Linked DNA regions of Homo sapiens: region 1 is linked to region 2. The links are contacts of gene promoters, found by promoter capture Hi-C in human tissues and cell types (Jung and others, 2019). All regions are on one chromosome and are shown on one strand. The core of a region is centred on a gene start or on the middle of the fragment in contact, and the rest is flanking DNA. Distances in the headings are between cores, read along the strand shown.

The links. The method cuts DNA at HindIII sites, captures the fragments that hold promoters and counts their contacts. A contact is called where the count stands out against the background at its distance.
Region 1: a fragment that was not itself captured here is called in contact with the fragment with the promoter of ALKBH8 in region 2 in 1 of the 25 tissues and cell types used here (aorta).

What each region holds. Positions count from the first base shown.
Region 1 is chr11:107,867,957-107,874,698 of GRCh38, forward strand. No RefSeq gene overlaps it. Among named protein-coding and RNA genes, the nearest start is that of SLC35F2, 13 kb to the left of the region's middle. The HindIII fragment of the contact is 6,812 bases long and covers 1-5,011 here.
Region 2 is chr11:107,560,996-107,567,696 of GRCh38, forward strand. ALKBH8 (alkB homolog 8, tRNA methyltransferase) reads right to left here and starts at 4,740. Exons shown (of 12, transcript NM_138775.3): 1 at 4,606-4,740. RefSeq lists enhancers at 4,091-4,609, 4,413-4,902, 4,610-5,126, 4,973-5,032. The HindIII fragment of the contact is 10,640 bases long and covers 1-6,701 here.

The DNA of each region.
Region 1 (6,742 bases), core at 356-2,855, 300 kb after region 2:
AAATTAGCTGGGCACAGTGGTGGGTGCCTGTAGTCCCAGCTACTCGGGAGGCTGAGGCAGGAGAACGGCGTGAACCTGGGAGGCGGAGCTTGCAGTGAGCTGAGATCGCACCACTGCACTCCAGCCTGGGCGACAGAGTGAGACTCCGTCTCAAAAAAAAAAAAAAAGTCAGAATTACCTGTCATTAAGCAGAGGGAATCAATAATACTATCTGCTTAGATGGCAACTTTGTTTAGAGAATTAGCCTTATTACCATTATCTTATTATAGGACACATTACAAATCAATCAACTATATATTGGTTGAATGCAAATTATGAGCAGACCACATTTCTAGATGTGCTCTCTGATATTCAATATGTGAAAGATACTTTTACTCTTCCATCAACCTTTCCTTCCTTCTTTCCCTCCAAAAACATTTTAGAACACCTACTATGTTCAGGGCCCCATGCTAGATGGCACGAAGAATGTAGGAGTAATTAAGACTTGGTTCTTGTCTTCATATTGTTTACAATTTAATAGAGAGGAAAGTACTTTGCACAACCCTAACTGCCCTTATTTTTATTTTATTTATTTATTTATTTATTTATTTTTTTGAGACAGAGTCTCGTTCTGTCGCCCAGGCTGGAGTGCAGTGGTGCGATCTGGGTTCACTGCAGCCTCGGCCTCCCGGGTTCAAGCTTTTCTCCTGCCTCAGCCTCCGGAGTAGCTGGGATTACAGGCACCTGCCACCATGCCCAGCTAATTTTTGTATTTTTTGTAGAGACGGGGTTTCACTGTGTTGGCCAGGCTGGTCTTGAACTCCTGACCTCGTGATCCACCCGCCTTGGCCTCCCAAAGTTCTGGGATTACAGGCGTGAGCCACCGCGCCCAGCTTTCTTTTTTTTTTTTTTTTTTTTTTTTTGAGACAAGGTCTCACTCTCTCACCTAGACTGGATTGCAGTGGTGTGATCACGGCTCACTGCAGCTTCAACTTCCTCAGGCACAAGTGATCCTCCCACCTCAGCCTTCCAAATAGCTGGGACCACAGGTGCACACCACCATGCTCAGCTAATTTCTTGTATTTTTTGTAGAGATGGGGTTTCTCCATGTTGCCCAGAATGGACTTGAACTCCTGGGCTCAAGTGGTCCTCCTGCCTTGGCCTCTGAAAGTGTTGGGATTAAAAGAGCTTGAGCTAGGCCGGGTGCAGTGGCTCACACCTGTAATCCCAGCACTTTGGGAGGCCAAGAAGGGTGGATCACCTAAGGTCAGGAGTTCAAGACCAACCTGGCCAACATGGTGAAACCCTGTTGCTACTAAAAATACAAAAATTAGCGGGGTGTGGTGGCGGGTGCCTGTAATCCCAGCTACTTGGGAGGCTGAGGCAGGAGAATTGCTTGAACCCAGGGGGCAGAGGTTGCAGTGAGCTGAGATCGCACCACTGCACTCTAGCCCGGGTGACAGAGTGAGACTGACTCTGCCTCAAAAAAAAAAAAAAAGCTTGAGCCTGGGAGGCAGAGGTTGCAGTGGGCCGAGTTTACACCACTGTACTCCAGCCTGGGTGACACAGTGAGACTCCATTCCCCAAAACCCCCAAAAAGGCATGAGCCACCATGCCCAGCCTAACCTTATTATTTAATTGAGGAGTAAAGGCTCCAAGAAATGAGCTTATTCCTGATTATCCCTTGGTCCCAGCCAGCTCCCACTTCACCCCTTCTTTTCTGCTTACAGTCCTGAAAGATTTCTCTTCACTTCACCTCTTTTCCAGGTACCATTGCCTGAATCCCTTTTCCTGAGGTCATCTAACTTCTAAAATAAGTACTGAAGGGAAAATGAAAAGGAAACAAATATAGGTTGTACAAAAAATAAAAACACAAAAGAGAAAAACAAAAAATCATCTTGAGAAGTTTTAAACTGTGTCATTAACCATAGCAGTCCCTTTTTGTCTAATGCAGTGGTTTAAAATACCAACCATAGGCTAATGACTCCCTGACTTTTTTAGCTCCAGCACAGGCTTCCCCTGAGCTTCACATTTGTATATATAATTGCTGACTTGCCATATCCACTAGGAAGTCTTAAAGGCATCTCAAACACAGCCCAAACAAAACTCTCTCTGTTCCTCCATTTCTTACTTTCCTCACTTACACCCATTGCAACATAAAGCACTTCAATCTATCAGTTCTCAAACTAAGAAACTAGGGATCTGCCAGGCATGGTGGCTCATGCCTGTAATCCCAGCACTTTGGGAGGCTGAGCTGGGAGGATCACTTGAGGCCAGGAGTTTGAAACAAGCAATAAAGTAAGACCTCATTTCTATGGAAAAAAAATTAATTTTAAAAATAAAAGAATCTAGGGATCATACATGGTTTCTCCTTTTCTCTTATTTCTCTCATTCAATTCAATAGCCAGTCTTTCCTTTTTTTTTTTTTTTTTTTTTTGAGACAGAGTCTCGCTCTGTCACCCAGGCTGGAGTACAGCGGCACGATCTCGGGTCACTGCAACCTCGGCCTCCCGGGTTCAAGCAATTCTCTTGTCTCAGCCTCCCTAGTGTCTGGGACTACAGTCACACGCCGCCACGCCTGGCTAATTTTTGTATTTTTAGTAGAGACAGGGTTTCACCATATTGGTCAGGCTGATCTTGAACTCCTGACCTCAGGTGATCCACCCACCTCAGCCTCCCAAAGTGCTGGGATTACAGGCATGAGCCACCACGCCCAGCCCAGTTTTTATATTCATTTTCAAAATATATCTGAAATCCATTCCCTTTTCTCTGTCTTCACCACCATAGGCCAAACCACCAAAATCTGTGGCCTATATGCTGCAACAGACTGGTATATCTTCCTACTTATTCTATTCTTGCCTCCTACAGTCCATTACCCAAAATCCCTACGAAATAAGGTCACTCTCCCCTGCTTATAAGCCTACAATGCCTGCCTGTTGTATTTAGCATGAAATTTAGGCTCCTTGCTCTAGCTTAAATGCGCTGCCTAACTCTTCAACCTGCATACTGTGTTCTTTCTCTTTCCCTTTATTTCTATTGTCTCATTTCCTCTGCCCGGAATAATCTGCCTTCAGATCTAAGCATAGTCTTAGGTCCAGTGTTGCCTCCTTAGAGAAGATGTCCTTGACTTAATCCACTGGTTCCCAGTCTCTCCCTATCAAATTGATAGGTTACATTTTCATCATAGGTATTGTTGGGGGCTGAATTGTGCACCGCCCCCTGCCCAGAAATGTATATATTGAAGTCACCCAGGGCTGAGGGGGTGGACCACCACGCTGGTGGGCCGAGGACAGAGCATCAAGCCAAAGATTATTCTGGAGCCTTAGTCTTTTTTTGTTCGTTTGTTTGTTTTTTGGAGACAGAGTCTCGCTCTGTCACACAGGCTGGAGTGCAGTGGCATGATCTTGGCTTACTGCAACCTCCGCCTCCTGGGTTCAAGCAATTCTCCCTCCTCAGCCTCCTGAGTAGCTGGGACTACCGGCATAATAAGCTACCAGGTCTGGTTAATGTTTGCTTTTTTAATAAAGAAAGGGTTTCGCCATATTGGCCAGGCTGGTCTCGAACTCCTGAGCTCAGGTGATCCACCCGCCTCGGCCACCAAAGTGCTGGGATTATAGGCATGAGCCACCGCATCCGGCTGGGATTTATTTTTTATTTCTGACTTTTGGAATGGGAAAGACTATGCTATGCCTATGCCATCATTGTATTTTGGAAGCAGATAACTTGTCTGGTTTTATAGATTCACAGCTGGGGAGGAATTTTGCCTCAGGACAAATCATAACTCCTATGAGTCTCACTCATACCTGATTTAGATTATATTTTGTGCTTACACTTGATGCTGAAATGAGTTAAGATTTCTGGCACAGTTAGAACAGGGTGAGCGTATGAATTTGGAGGAGAGGTGGACGGAGGGCTATAATGAGGTCTACCAAAATTCATATGTTGAAGTCCTAACCTCCAGTGCCTCAGAATGTGATTGCAGCGACGAAGTCTTTAGAGGTATTAAGTTATAATGAAGACATTAGGGTAGGCCCTAATCCAATATAACTAGTATCCTTATAACAAGAGGAAATTAAGACACAGACAGTTACAGAGGAAAGACCATGTGAAAACACAGAGAGATGGCCCTGTACAAGCGACGAGAGATGCTTCAAAAGAAACCAGTTCTGGCTTGGCGCGGTGGCTCACGACTGTAATCCCAGCACTTTGGAAGGCCAAGGCCGGCGGATCACGTGAGGTCAGGAATTCAAGACCACCCTGACCAACATGGAGAAACTCCATCTCTACTAAAAATACAAAATTAGCCGGGCATGGTGGCACATGCCTGTAGTTCCAGCTACACGGGAGGCCAAGACAGGAGAATCGCTTGAATCTGGGAGGCGGAGGTTGCAGTGAGCAGAGACCGCCCCATTGCACTCCAGCCTGGGCCACGAGAGCGAAACTCTGTCTCAACAAAAAAGCCAATTCTGCCACCATGTTGATTTCAGACTTCTAACCTCCAAGACTGTGAGAAAATAAATGTGTTTAAGCCACTCAGTCTGTTATATCTTGTTATGGCAACCCTAACAAACTCATACAGAAATTATCTAAAATTATCTTGTTCTTAGATTACTTATATTGTGTTCTCCCACCCACAGAGAATTTCCTGCCCATCTATGGAGAACAGCCCCATAAGTATCTTGAGAATCATGTTAGCACTCAAAAGAAGCTAAATCATAAAGTGACCTCCCAAAAACATATATTTATCTTTTCATACACATCTTCCATGAATTTTAATGTATTAATCTCAGTGCCTCTCTCACTGCCTTTTCCTTTCTTCACTCTTCTGCACCCACTTAACAACCACTATCCCTCTAGCCAGACCAAGTTACTTACAGCTCGTGAACTACAACATGCCATTTTGCACAGCTATACCTTTCCATTAGATTAAGGAGAAGTCTTATCCTTCAACAGTAAGCAAAGGGATTCCTTCCTCTGGGAACTCTTTTTTAATCCTCTCTATATTTTATTTATTTACTTATTTATTTATTTATTTTTGAGATAGAGTCTCACCTAGGCTGGAGTGCAGTGGCATGAACATGGCTCACTTCAGCCTCAAACTCCCAGGCTCAGGTGATCCTCCCACCTCAGCCTCCCAAGTAGCTGGGACCACAGGTGCCAGCTGCCATGCCTGGCTGTTTTTGTATCTTTTGTACAGACTGGGTTGCCCAGGCTGGTCTCCAACTCGTGGGGTCAAGCTATCTGCCGTCTCGGCCTCCCAAAGTGCTAAGATTACAGGTTTGAGCCACCGACCCTTGCCCTACTTCAGTAATTTTTGTTCCAATTTATATTATTTCCTTCCTTCTACATTATTTGGGCTTATGTTGCTTTTTCCCTAACTCCTTAAACTGCGTTCTAAACTCATTAATTTTGAGTTGCCTCTCACGAGTTTTGATAATGGCTTTACTATCATTCACTTCTACGTATTTTCCAGTTTCCATTATAACTTCTTCTTTGACTCGTGAGTTGGAAAGACACATCCCTTAATTTCCAAGCATAATAAGAGTTTTTAACTTTTTTTTTTTTTTGAGACGGAGTCTCGTTCTGTCGCCAGGCTGGAGTGCAGTGGCGCGATCTCGGCTCACTGCAACCTCTGCCGCCCAGGTTCAAGTGATTCTCCCTCCTCAGCCTCCTGAGTAGCTGGGACTATAGGCATAAGCCACCACACTTGGTTAATTTTTGTATTTTTAGTAGAGAGGGGGTTTCGCCATATTGGCCAGGCTGGTCTTGAACTCCTGACCTCAGGTGATCCACATGCCGTAGCCTCCCAAAGTGTTAGAATTACAGGCGTGGGCCACTGCACCTGGCCAAGTTTTTAATTATTTTCTATAGTTGATTTCTAACTTAATTGTATGATAATGTAGGCTATATGATACTTTTTTTTTTTTTAGAGATAGGGTCTCACTCTGTCACCCAGGCTGGAGTGCAGTGGTATAGTCATAACTCACTGCAGCCTCAAACTCATGGGCTCACAGGATGTTTCTGCCTCAGATTCTGGAGTAGCTGGGACTACAAGCGAGCACCACCACACCTGGCTAATTTTTAAATTTTTTGTAGAGACTGGTTTTCTCCATGTCGCCCAGGCTGGTCTAGAACTCCTGGCCTCCCAAATCATTGGGATTACAAGTGTGAGCCACCATACCTGACCTGACCTGATACTTTCAATATTTTGAAAATAGCGAGATAAGTTTTAAGACCTAGTACATGGTCAATTTTGATAAATGTTTTTCATGTGTGTGTAAAATAATTTTTTTTGTTTGTTTTTTGTTTTCTTTCTTTTTTTTTTTTTTTTTGAGACAGAGTTTTGCTCTTGTTGCCCATGTTGGAGTGCAATGGCGCCATCTCGGCTCACTGCAACCTCTGCCTCCCACGTTCAAGCGATTCTCCTGCCTCAGCCTGCTGAGTAGCTGGGATTACATGCACCACCACACCCGGCTAATTTTGTATTTTTAGAAGAGATGGGGTTTCTCCACGTTGGTCAGGCTGGTCTCAAACTCCCAATCTCAGGTGATCCGCCTGCCTCGGCCTCCCAAAGTGCTGGGATTATAGGCGTGAGCCACCACGCCTGGCAGAATGTTTATTCTCAATGTGTTTTTTGTTTGTTTGGTTGGTTGGTTGTTTTTTTTGTTTTTGTTTTTGTTTTTGTTTTTTTGAGATGGAGCCTCACTCTGTCGCCCAGGCTGGAGTGCAGTGGTATGATTTCAGCTCACTGCAGCCTCCCTCT
Region 2 (6,701 bases), core at 3,490-5,989:
TCTGTGACAATTTTTTAAAAATGCTTCATTTACCTTGTACCAACTAAGAGAAGTGAGAACAGATAAATAAAAAATGAACAAATATCTAAGAATATCTAATAGCATAGCTCTGATGGTTCTAAAAAATGTTCCAATGTGGTAGCTCCATTAAGTGTGCTATTTTACTCATAGGTGATGAATTCTTTACTTATGAGGTCCTAAGTAAAATGTGCCATACACAAATTTCACAACTATAACGTAAACCAAGGCAAGGAGCAGGCAGGGGAGCGGTGGGGGGAGAAATAACACACAAAAAATTAGCAGACTCTACAGTATGATTCCATTTACATAAAGGTCATAATCAAAAAGTAAGCCATATATTATTTAGAAATACATACATAGCAGTGCCAAAAAAAAAAGCAAGGAAATTATAAACACAAAATTCAGGAGAGAGGCTATTTCTGTGGGTGAAAGGAAAGGAAATTAACATGAAAGTGACACATAGGAGCATCAAAGGGTGTTTCTTCAGTTACATGGTAGGTGTAGGTGTTTGTTTTACTATTTTAAAAACTGTATGTGTCATATATTTTATATCTACAATTTTTTAAATAACAGAATCCCAAAGAGGTCTCTATAATCACACCATCCAAATCAGCACCCAATATCATGCTTTATCACACTTTATCACAGTAGTCTTTTATTTTGTTCACAAAATGTAACATAATTTGTGATGATTCATCTGTTAGCTTAACTCCTCCATCATGATATAAATCCCAAGAGAGCAGGAATGCCAGCACATAGTAGTTGCTCAATAAATATTTGATGGTAGGGCTAAATGAATAATAAATGAGTGAATACACACAGTCTCAGCACCCTGCAGCATGCAACCATAATAAAGTACATAGTTTATGCTTTCAACAAGTTTGTAACTTAGTTGTGGAAAACAAACACTAAACAATAAGACTATGACACATCTTTATATAATTTAATGCTGATGGTACAGTCTTTAGGTATGACACAAATTAGAGACAAAAATAAGATGGATGTGGGCTGGGAGCAGTGACTCACACCTGTAATCTTTAGGAGGCCAAGGCAGGCAGATCACTTGAGGTCAGGAGTTCAAGACCAGCCTGGTCAACATGGTGAAACTCTGTCTCTACTAAAAGTACAAAAAATTAGCCACGTGTGGTGGTGGGCACCTGTAGTCCCAACTACTTGGGAGGCTGAGGCACGAGAATCGCTTGAACCCGGGAGGCAGAGGTTGCAGTGAGCCAAGATCATGCTACTACACTCCAGCCTGGCAACAGAGTGAAATTCCATCTCAAAAAAAAAAAAAAAGTATGTAAACTGGAAAAGTTGGGAAGGCCTCAAAACAGGAGATTTGTGCCATGTACTGAAGGATAAGAACACTATAGAATCAAATAAAAAGGAAAGTATTCAGTGAGGCAGTAAAGAGCAGAAGCTAAAACCAAAATGGACATGTTTGGCCAAGACACCAAGACACAGGCATAATTTTTTTAGACCGGTCCCACTCTCTGCGGACTTTAAAGTCTTCAAAGTCAACCAAATATACAAATTTGGGGGTTAAATAAAATCTTATTTATCTTATTTCACATGAAATCATAAACAGTCAAAATTCTAATTACTAATCTTTAGTATAGAAGACAAATGCCAAGTCTCTTAAAATGCCAGCAGTCCAGCTTCCTAGCACAGGGGGTACATACTAGGATGTAAGGCCAGTGAGGCAGGCAGGCTGGCTGGCAGCATAGCAGAGAGATGAGAGGTAAAAAAAATAATAATAATAATCCAGCTTGTTAATTAGAAATGCTGGCCTGATCTAGGCTGGGGGCAACAGAAAGAAGCGAAATAGGGGGAGAGGAGAAAGAGGAAGGGTGAGTGAAAAGTTCAGGCGGAATCAAGAGGCCTCGATGACTACCCAGATATGAGGGAGACAGGAATCAAAGATTACTTGTTAACCAGTTAGAGGCTGAGTGACTAAGAGATGAGTGCTACCACTTCAAAACTGGAAAGTCAGGAGGAGGTTCAGGAAGAGCTGCTCAGTATAGGAGGTAATGAGTCATATTTAGGATAGAATAATGTTTAAGGTATTGTGAGATACAGAGTTGCAATGTCTGGCTGGCAAGTGACAAAATAAAGTGGCTCCTAGGAAAGGAACTGAGGTTAAAAAGGTTTAGGAGTCAGTCGTCATTAAGACAGGAAGGGGATAAGTGAATGGACATGTCTAACATTGCATTAATTATAATTATTTGTTTTAGTATCTGTCCCCTTCCACTGAACTGTGAGCTTTCTGAAGGCGGGATTAAATCACACTTTTCTTAGTTACCACAGAGCCTCATTCAGTGCTATGAGGTAATATAATACAGTGTTTAGGAGTCCATGTTCCAGGTTCAAATCTCAGCTCAACCACTGATTATTAGCTGTATAATCCTAGATGAGTTGGTTATATAGCTCTGTGTTCCAGTTTCTTTATCTAGGAATAGGGATAAAAATAATAGTGCCTATCCCATAGCTTTCTTAGAATTAAATTTATTTATTATTATTTATTTATTACTGTTGATTTTCAGAAGCAGCAGATCAAAATGGCTTAACAAAACAAAGAATATCTGAGGCCCTTCAAAGGAGCTATTTTAGAGCCATTCCATTTCAAGATCTTCATCTGTGGAACAGCAACTTTGCAGTATGTCATGGAGAACAAGGGATGACTGCACTACAGAATTTTTAATATTTCACATGAGCAAACACTGCAAAGAAGGAATGAGAAAGAAACGATGCTAAATATATCTTTTTAAAATGTCTGCCACTAAGAGTCCAGCACCAGCAGGTGGAGCCTCATAACCACATTTTTGTCATCCCTTTCCTTTTTCTCTCCCTCAGTCATGCAATATTATTGCACGTGAAGAAAGACACTAAATGGCCTTTGAGGCTCAGTTTTCCACCATTCCAGTGGCTAGGCAATGTGCTGGCCCAACATATCTGAGTCATCTCAACAAGGATAGGCTGATACCAGCTGCTGAGGTCTGGAGGTGCCCCCTTCTGACAAAGCCACTTCCCTGGCCAGAGTTTCCACTAATGCACAGATACTTGGATGCTCCCTGTGACATTACTGGAGTGAAGTCACTATTAACTATGATACTAGCCATGCTGAGTCCGGTTCAGCCAGCTCCAGCCTAAGCGTACTCTCTGTGGGATAATGAAAGTTTGGAGATTATGCATGCTCTGCTACTTGCTTGTTAGTGAGTTTAAAGCCAATATATCCTACTAGATATTGCCCTACGTGGTAATAGTAGTATGTACATCATGCCCTCCTTGAATAATAGAGAGCCTATTATGAAACAAGCAGTATAGACAAATGTTCCTATACTTATATGTTTAAAAAAATGCAAAAACCATGATTACTTTTGCACAACCTAATAATTAATAGCAAAGATTAGAAAGAATCTAACTTCCTATCAAACGAGGCCCAATTTTAACGTACGGCACTGGTATACAGAGTTTACATATAAATCTTTAGGACACACAAGAAATTGGTGATATGGGTTGCCTCCAGGGAAGGAAAATGGATCGATGAGTAAAGGAATGAAAGGGAGCTTTCTTCTTTCATGACTTTTGAAGTTAGTAGCTATTTAAACTGCATCATCTATTTAAAAAGAAAATAAAGATTTAAAATTTTTAGAAAAAAATTCACCCCATCACTTGTCACGGCACCCCGTTTTAACTCTTTGAATAACACTTACTACATATTTTCTTACACTCTCATTAATTTGTTTATTCTGTCTTTCCCCATAACTGAATAAAGAACACTCACTCCATGAAGTAGAGATTTTGTCTCTATTGTTCACCCTGTAGCACCCAGCACTTAAACAGGATTTAGCACCTAGCAGCCACTCAATAACCATTTGTCGAATAAACCTAAATCGACTTTGCTGTCTTACCTCCTAAACCTCCCCTCCTCCAGAATTCTGAGTTTGGTGGCCTTCTTCAACGTTTTCATTAACACCTAGCATGGACCTCTATCTCTAGAGTTCTCACATGGTATTATAATTGCCTGTTTGTGTTGGGCTTCGGCCAGAAAACTGTCATCTATTTAAGGGCACAGACTTGGTGCCTGACATACAACTGACAATAAATATTCAATGAAATCTATCAAAATAACAGGCTGACGCTACCAGAGGTCCAGGAGTCGCAGGGATTGCTCAAATAAGAGCACAGGAAGACTCAGCTGCGCAAGGGATCAGATCATCAGCACTGCCTTTGCATCGATGCAATCAGACCGATTGTCACCGGTCAGAAAAGCCCCAGAAGCGCCACACTAACACGCCCCATGTTGCAACCGTCCTCTCCAACCCCAAAGAAAACAGAAGATTGACACAGGCACCACGTGAGCGCCCGAACCAAACACAAACACATGCACCCTAAACACTGAGAGAACCACCCAACGCAGACACCCTACTGCCCACACTGCACCAAGGGCGCCTCTGGGATCCATCCCCTTTCCCTAGGTTCTCAGCCCTAGCTGGCAAGGCGGATAGAGAAGACCGGAAGAGGCTGAAAAGAGGAAGCGGTGATTTGCTGCCCGTATGCCCGCCAGTAAGAAGTGCCACACACCTCCGCTTCGGCTCAGGCCGGATTCTCACCATGCGTGTGCCTTCTTCTTTGCCAGCCTCTCCACTCTAGCACCAGAACACCGCAGCGGATACTTGCACGCCATCTCCCCTGGGCGCGGCCATGTTGGAGAAAACTGCACTACATTTCCCATGAGCCCGCGGGACAACGAACAGCGCTCCCACAGTCCTCTTCGCCTCCCAGAGCCCGGGAGTGACCCTTTTTCGACCAAGTGTCTTTGTAAAGTGCTGTCTGTTACACTGAAAATTCAGTTGTCTTTTTGGGGGGAGTAGTAATAATTGGTAGTGCAGCTATATTTTTATCTGTTGCTCTCCAAATGGACAAGGTCAAACAGGTTTGGGCCCTTTGGTCTTTCAGCAATGTCCCCTGGCACCTTCTATTCTTCGTGCATATTTCCTCCTGAATCTTATTAGAGGTGAGAAAGGAAAATAAATCTTGGTGCCACAAAATCACTAAGCTAAAGGGAAAAGTCAAGCTAGGAACTGCTTGGGCAAACCTGCCTCCCATTCTATTCAAAGTCATCCCTCTGAGTCATCCCTCTGCTCACTGAGATAAATGCATATCTGATTGCCTCCTTTGGAAAGGCTCATCAGAAACTCAAAAGAATGCAACCATTTGTCTCTCAGCTGTAATACGTGCGACCTGGAAGCCCCCTCCTCACTTTGAGTTGGCCCGCCTCTGCTTCAATTTGTCCCTCCTTTCTGGACGGAACCAATGTTCATCTTACATATATTGATTGATGCCTCATGTCTCCCTAAAATGTATAAAACCAAGCTGTGCCCCGACCACCCTGGACACATATCATCAGGACCTCCTGAGGCTGTGTCACGGGCGGGCGTCCTTAACTTTGGCAAAATAAATTTCCTAAATTGTCTGAGACCTGTCTCAGATATTCAGGGTTCACAGAGATATGGGAGAGGATCCTGGGGTCTGAAAGATGGCATTGCATGGGCGGGAGGGAAGGAAGTGAATATGCATGAATGTGCCAGGGGAATGGTGAGTACCACAGAGTAATAGAAAGATGTGTGGAAGAATGGTGAAGGAAGCAAGACAGAATTCTGTAGGCCTGCAGAGTGGGAGTTGCAGGGAGGAAGGTTAGAGAAATGAAATGATATGACCAGAGCTTCTTGTGGCAAGTGGGAGGAGAGACTAGAAGATGACTGATGAAGTGAAAAGTAACGAAATATTAACAAGCCCAGTAGTGGCAGAGGGAAAGAAAAAAGAGCTGGTAACAGATCATAAGTAAAAGACAAAGGAGAGGGTGATGATTAGCAGTTGTTCCTGCTCTGTTATTTGTTATATAAATGTACCATAATCCTTCTACCTGCATTGGTTTATGAGCTATGTGAGTGCAGGGAGGGAAAGGTGTAGGGGAAGAGGAATCACCTTCCCATGTTGTTGATACAATGGCCCCTATCTGCAGTGCACCACAGTGGACTAACAATAAAATAGCTGGCTGACCAGGAAAAGTGGCAGTGAAAAAAGAGTGCTGTTGAGTGGCGGAATGATTTGTGTGGAGAATAGGTTACAAACATGAAAGAACAGAAGAGGCAGATAGGCAAGCATTGCAATAGTCTAGGAAAGAAAGGGTGAGACCAAAACTTAATAGTAAAAATGAGGAGGCAAGTGCAAGCTGGAGAGGTCAAATCCACCAGACATTGCAAGCTACATGAGTATAAGAGGACACACAGGAAATCTCCCCATTGCAATTCTGCTTCTGCACTACTGGATGCTTTCAAAAACACATCCCCATAGAGCTTTCTGCAATGATGGAAATATTTTATAGTTTGAGCTGTCCAACATAATAGACACTAGTTAACGTGTGGCTTATGAGCATTTCAAATGTGGCTAGTATGACTAAGGAAATGAATTTTGAATGTTTAAATTTTAGTTTCAATTAAACTTAAGTAGCCACAAGTGGCCGGTGTCTACCAAACTGGATAACAGTGTAAAATATCCTCTTATCTCTTACTGATCAAATTCAATTACTTCATCTCAGTATTTGTCCTGCTTTAAGGTGCTGAAGCTTTTAAAACTTTTTTTCTGCACCTCTCTTTTAATTCTCTTTATACGATCTG